Regions from separate parts of the Homo sapiens genome. Here region 2 is linked to region 1. Evidence: promoter capture Hi-C in 16 types of primary human blood cells and fetal thymus (Javierre and others, 2016). All regions are on one chromosome and are shown on one strand. Each heading gives the region's core, a stretch centred on a gene start or on the middle of the fragment in contact. The rest is flanking DNA. Distances are from core to core; before and after follow the strand shown. Region 1 holds the start of GPC6-AS1 (GPC6 antisense RNA 1). Region 2 overlaps GPC5 (glypican 5).

Region 1 (3,453 bases), core at 791-3,290:
CCAGGAGGCTGAGGCAGGAGAATGGCATGAACCCGGGAGGCGGAGCTTACAGTGAGCCGAGATCGCACCACTGCACTCCAGCCTAGGTGACAGAGCGAGACTCCGTCTCCAAAAAAAAAAAAAAAAAAAAGGTTTTCTTACTGAGAAATTATTTTAAGATATATGTTCACATAGACCTTTCCAGAAGAAAACTGAAAAGAGGTAAAGGGTAGTCTAACTCACAAATATAAATAGAGAAACACAATGCATATTTACTCAGCAATCTTTTAATATGAGGTCATATTATTGGAATAGGAGTTTACCAGTTGGATTTCGGCATGATTTTTCTTGCACAAAACACAAAGCAGTAACTATAATTTCTGCCTTTAGCTTTTGAAAAACTAAAAGAACTTAAAGATGCTTGCAAGCCAACAAGAGCAGAGTCCCATTTTCCTCCTTCTTTAAATTTCGTATCATTGTCTTACCTTTACCAAGATTTTTCAACCATTCTACTTCACCCAGTCTTTCCAAAGTACTTAATTTTTTTTCTAAATTGATATTTAATGGGTTGCTCAATTTTACAAATAACATAAGAAGGTTTAGGGTCACCGCAACAGATTCTTTGAAACCATAAAATTCAACCCTTGGCTACGATGTTGGTGGGGGATTAAAGAGTAGCCTACCAGCCTCAAGTGGTCAAAATGACATGGACATTCTCACAGGCACTTTAAAGAAAAAAATGACGAGTTGGCTATATTTATGCATGCAGAATTATTTTTATAGAGTTCTATCTTGATTAAAACATAATTTAGTAGATTAAATATGCTATCTTCTTTGAGCAAGCTTTGGAAGACCAAGCTACTAGTAGAATTATACCAGAGTTAGGATACTGCCCTCTGCATACACTCAAATAGCAGGCCAGAATCCCAATAGAAAATGAGCATGCTTAGCTATGTTTCTGTAGTATGGAACTTACGAAGGTTCGATTCTTGATTTCTCATATGAATCAGAGCTCTCTCTCTCCTTTCCAGTGTGACCCAGTTGTATTTTGCATAGGCAGATGGTTTGAAGGAAAATTCCAGATTATTAGCATTTGCACTGGAGCTTGACAATCACCTTTATGAACCTGCTCTTGGAATAGCAGCCTTGGAAGATCCTGGAGTCAATCTCCTTTTATTTCAGATGAAAACTGATGACAGGGAAAGAGCCCAGGAAGAAAGTTTTTATTCTTGGTGCCTTGGGCAACGTGTGTATCCTCCCTCAAAAGAAGGCTTGGAGCAAAATGAACACTTACAGGAAACTGAGGCTCGTATGTTTTATGCAGTGAATCACCGGCATAATTGGAATTCTAACCTCGAAATTTTATTTCCAAATTTGACTGGCTCCACTCCTTATACATCAAATTGATCAAAGCAGAAATTACAGATTCAAATTTATGGTAAAGCTAAGAAAAAGAAAGCAGAACGATGAGTCAGAAGGTAAGAGGCCACGTAACCCAATATTTTTTTAGCATAAAGCATTCACGAATTTTACTGGCACCTCAACTAAAATGATGTTCTTTTAAAATCGTGTCACTTGATTATAAACATCTTGTTTTAAAAATGGAACATATAATCCAACATCCCCCAAATTTCTAGACTAATTCAAACATAAGAGTTGATCTTAATATGGATTTAGGTATTCAACAAATACTTATAGAGTGTCCACTATCGGGCAAACATTGTTCTAGGTGCTGGAGTTACAACAGTGAACAAATAGGCAAAACCTTTACCCTCATGAGGCTTAGAGTCCAGTGGAAAGGAAAAGACCAAAAATAAGATAAGAAAACTTTATGGAAATATATAAACATACATAGGTATGTCTATATAATACACTGTGATATACCTAGTAAGATATATATAGTTTTGAGAGAAAAACATGGCTAACTTGTTTGTGCCTTACCTTGTCATACAGAATTAGAATATTATCCATACTGAATTCCTGGGCCCAGCCCTGGCCAGTGTCTCTGCCATTTTATGGGGTACATTATCTCTGCTGAGCTAAGTAATTGCTAAATCCACACTGGAGGCTGTGTGAGTAGAGAAGTGACACACCAGTTAACAGGGTGAGAAATTAATGCAAATTAATTCTCCACCCTCCCAGCAGACACTGCTCCCACTTTCTTGCCCTTCTCCATCCCCCTGCCAGTTCACAGAGAAAAGTATGAATATTACAAATGATACTCACTTCATGTCTCAGTGACCTAGAAAGGAGTGTGTGCACTAAGGTGCAGCAGTGCTTTAATGACGCTGAGCCCAAAAGCAAGGCAGTGACACAAAGAGGGGAGTGGTGTCACTGAGAGGAAGGCCCAAGCACTTTCCCCTTCTGCACCTCTTCCCAGGAGACAGGGGTGAGTTAAGGCAGCACAAGGTCACTGGGATTGCCTGAAGCTTGACCACAGGCACGAGTGACTTTCCTCTTGGCTGGTACCATCTGTATAGGGGAATAGAAGATTTTTATCATAACAAAGGATATCTCAATAGAGTCAATTAGCCCAGCATGCCTCAGAGAGTTCTGTGATGTGAGTGGTCACTTCTTTGAACTAAAGTTGAATAAAGAAAAAAAGAAAGTGAAATCATTTCAGTTACAAAGAACCTAGCACTGCATTCTATAAGGTTTTATCATTCAGATTTGGAAGGAGACGGGAGCCATGGTGGATGCCGTGAGGTGTCACCAGATCCCTTTGTGGGACTATATCCATCCCCCACCCTCCAGCTGTTCTGAGGATTGGCTGCTCACCTCTGTCCCCTTCTTTAGGGACCTCTGTATCTGGAGAGGCACTTGCACCACACCCCATCCCATAGCTGGTGACCGATTTGTTATCAGAGCTCCTTCATACTAAAGAAAGAGAGACTGAGACTCAAGCTGCTGAAGAGCTTTCCTCAAAGTCTCACAATCTGGTCAGTCGTCAAAGGAGTCTGTCTGACTCCAAATCCATCCTCTCTCCCCTCAATCGTATAGTTGCTTTATTCTCTTCTAGTGCTGTGGAGAAGCAGCCCCAGTTTGCCACTGAATAATAAGCGTCCCCACCATTTCCTTTCCCCATTGTTGTTATAGGGATTCCTAATATGTGTTGCTAAGGCTTCACCTTATATCACCCAGAAGCTCTAACCTGTGGCTTCCTCAAGAGACATTATCCCTGAAAAACGGGTAGAAATTCAGGAAACTGCTTACTCAATTTCTCAGGTGGTGGCGGATGTTTTCTTCCTTATTCTTTGTTTTCTGCTTGGTAAGTCTGTGTGTAGGTGGTTTAATTGTGCTGAACAGATTCTTTCTCTCCTCTGTACAAAATGGGCTTTGGGGGTGGACAGGAGGAGGAAGAGAAAGATGTGAGTTTCACATAAGAGCAGAGGGATCCTTAGCCTGTCAGCTGAGAAACGAGGACTGTGTATTCCTGAGTAGTGCCTCCTGCCTTTCAAGCCTGGAAAGAGAACA
Region 2 (3,498 bases), core at 668-3,167, 2.0 Mb before region 1:
TTTCATTTTAGATTAATTTTATGTCTATGCCCACGTATGGGATTGCAGATTACTGAAATGTAGAACATACTTTACAGCAAATAAGTTTAATACCATTATGTTTGCATGACAAATACACATATTTTTCATTATTACTTTTTTTAAAATTTGAAATAATTTGAAAAAAATTTACTGAGAATTTATTAAAAACATATTGCTGCCAGGCGCTGTGGCTCATGCCTATAATTCCAGCACTTTGGGAGGTCAAGGCGGGCGGATCACAAGGTCAGGAGTTTGAGACCAGCCTGGCCAACATAGTGAAATCCCATCTCTACTAAAAATACAAAAATTAGCTGGGTGTGTTGGCGAGTGCCTGTAATCCCAGCTACTCAGGAGGCTGAAGCAGGAGAATTGCTTAAACCAGGATGCTGGAGGTTGCAGTGAGCCGAGATGGCGCCACTGCACTCCAGCCTGGGCGACAGAGCGAGACTCTGTCTCAAAAAAAAATAATAAAAAATATATTGCATATTATGCTCAGGTAGAAATTTCAAGAATATTATTAATTCAATTTCTGCCTACAAAATTTTACATTGAAATAAAATATTTTCTTTTTCCAATAAAAAAAGCAGAGTTTACTGGTTCATAACTCAAAATGGAATCAAATAGCATACATATTTGCATTTATATTATGAAACAATACAAATTCTGAACTCCATATCTCCAGTACTGTGAAAGAGTAACAGTATTCACTTTATTTTGTGTATGTAACTAACAGGAAAGGAGAATTCCCAGAGAGTTTCCTATATTGGATAATAGATGAGAGAATCCTATATTGGATAATGGACAAGAGAGAATTATTTAACTCCAGATTTGATTAAAATGATAAAACTACCTCTTAAGAATGATTATAGTTCAACTCTGAAATGTAAACTTAAACCATTTTCCTATCATTGTAAACAAATTAATCCGACAGTTATATTCACTCCTACTGGTGTGCTAAGGAATTGTTGACACTCTTTGGGCAGGATCTAAGTGGCTACACCCATTCGGCTCTGCCCCAGAAGTCCTGCATCCTTTCTGATACTTCCTTAATTAAATTACATGTACACTACATTCTCTTTCAAGAGGCTTTTATTGGCCAAGAAGATTAACCACTCCATTCTTTGTTCCCATTATACTCCATACAGCTTTTTGTTGCACAGGTAATTACGTACTGCTATATTTTTACTTATTTATTTCTTCTTATCCAACTATATACATTTTAAGGGGAAGAGAAATAATATTCTTTTTGAATCTGCAGTGTTTAGTACCATGGTGAACTCAGTGCCTGGCCAATAGCAGAAACTCAACAGTAACTTAATACATCTTTGTTATACGAATGAAAGGAAAGAAGGGAGGAAGAATAATGGAAATTATCATAGTTTATGGAGTCCATTTAAGTACTATTACTTCTTTATGGCAATTTACTCTCATAACAACCTTATGAAGTACAGATTATTATCCTCATTTTACAACTAAAACAAAACACAAGGTGATGATCAGAGAGTTTAAGCACCTTGCCTGAATTCACACAGTTCATCCTGTGTGCTTGGGATGCAAATAGTGAGTACCTCCGACTCCAGAGCAACACTCAGGACATGACAATGTTCAGAAGGTGTGTGATGCATGCCATAGGCTCTCCCTCATAAAAACACACTTGATCCTAATACCGTCACTGTGGACTAGATATTAGGATCCATTATTTGCAGATGAGAAAGAAAACAGTTAAAACAAGTCTCCTGTCTGAGCAATTTTGAAAGGTGCTAGGCTACAGAGATGCCATGATTATAAGTTCAAGGTTCATTCACTGCCACAAACCTGTCTTATAATACTTTTGCATATTTCCTCACTGAAAAATAGTATCCTCATTCAGAAATTACATAATGGCCATAGCTAGGTAAGTGTGTTCTGTGAATTTGGAAATCAGTTTCAGTTTGCTGCAGCCTGCAGGTATTCTCAAATGCATCAGAGAGTAGACTAGGAAAAATAAAACTGAAATGTAAAAGGAATGAGCAGGGGGTGTATATTAGGCTCTTTCTGACCTAGTATTAGCCTCCCCATCAGATTTCACTTCCAATGGTCTTTCTCCAACAACATGGTCTTTCAGGCCTTTCCTTGTAATCTAAGGTAGAGTGAGAAGGAAAGTGATTTTAGGGTCATGATTGAATGGCTAACAGCACAAATTCAAAGACTTCTTTTATCAGGAAAAAATAAGGTTATTTTATGGTAATTATCATTGGAAATTCTAAACCTTAAATCAGAGAAGCATTAGCAGTCAAAGATCTCTGCTGTAGATTTGTGGAGTTTGTATTACATTACAGATATTTTAGAAAGGCATAAATTGAAACCAACGATAAGAATTGACAATGAATCTGAAAATCAAGCCACTAAGACTGCATGGCCCTTCAAGATAAATCAACATTATAATATTCAATATTAAGCTCTATGCATTTTCTCATACAATAAAATAGTTTTGATCTCTAATCTAGAGACAGCCAAAAAACGGTGGTGGTGGTTGTTCTTTTTAATTCAGTGATACATATGTGCAGTGCCTAAAACTAAACAAGACAGGGCCTAATCAGCGTCTGGTATTATAAATTTACAAAAGAGGAGTAAAAAAGAATTAAGCCAAGCTCCGTGCAAAGTGTGTCATCTTTATTAGGTTTATAGTCATTATTTAATTTAACCTTTAAAATAACCCCTTGAGTTAGGAGCGTATTGGCTCCAAATAAATTACCAGTATATTGATCTTACTGTATGGCAAGTATTTGAATCTCAGATTCAAACCCAAATTTTTTTGGAGGCCAAATCAACTGCTTTTCATAACTACACTGCATTCCCACTCATATGCTTCTACTGACACCACGTATGTAAATGGGTCAGTAGCCATGGTGAAGTTAAGGACACAAGAATAAACCACTGATTTAGAATCATAACTGAAGCTAGATGACAGGGCACATGGCAAACACGAAATATCTGGCAAGGTCAGTTTTGATGAACAGTGACTGTAATAAACTCAAATGATACTTCATTTAGAATAAGTTATTTATATACTTAATAAAAATCATTATAGCCTTTAATTACTTAGGTTCATTTGTCATTAACTTTATCCCGGGTTTTCACTGATCTACCCATTCATCTACTCAGCATATACTTATGTGCTCACTGTGTACCAGGACTCAGAAGGGGGCTCTGAGAGTGACCTGAAGAGTGAATAGGGGTTTAAGGAGAGTGTAGCACTTTTAACAAGGAGGCGCAGGCCCTTTGGCATGGAACTGCCAAGACTTTCAGGGTCTGAAAGAGAGCCAGTTGAGGCAGGCGCTCAGGGCAAAGTGGAAGCACAGCGGAAAACTAATTAAAGTTAATTTTGCTTTTCATTAATATTATCTTCAAAATTTACATTTCTATGTGTAATATTTATTGGGAAAAAAGATGTATCCCCTTGAAAAAAAAGTAATGCTACATGATATGCTAACAATG

Evidence for each region. Contacts are between HindIII fragments. The CHiCAGO score rates a contact against its expected background, and 5 or more counts as called.
Region 2: a fragment that was not itself captured here is called in contact with the fragment with the promoter of GPC6-AS1 in region 1 in 2 of 17 cell types (M0 macrophages and M2 macrophages); the score reaches 5.6 in M0 macrophages.

Annotation. Positions count from the first base shown.
Region 1 is chr13:94,185,951-94,189,403 of GRCh38, forward strand. GPC6-AS1 (GPC6 antisense RNA 1) reads right to left here and starts at 2,041. Exons shown (of 4, transcript NR_046535.1): 1 at 1,921-2,041; 2 at 1,274-1,423; 3 at 956-1,168. The region is part of intron 4 of GPC6 (glypican 6); the gene reads left to right. RefSeq lists an enhancer at 2,197-3,112. The HindIII fragment of the contact is 1,586 bases long and covers 821-2,406 here.
Region 2 is chr13:92,192,698-92,196,195 of GRCh38, forward strand. All of the region lies in intron 7 of GPC5 (glypican 5), which reads left to right. Among named protein-coding and RNA genes, the nearest start is that of GPC5-AS2, 160 kb to the right of the region's middle. The HindIII fragment of the contact is 3,840 bases long and covers 1-3,498 here.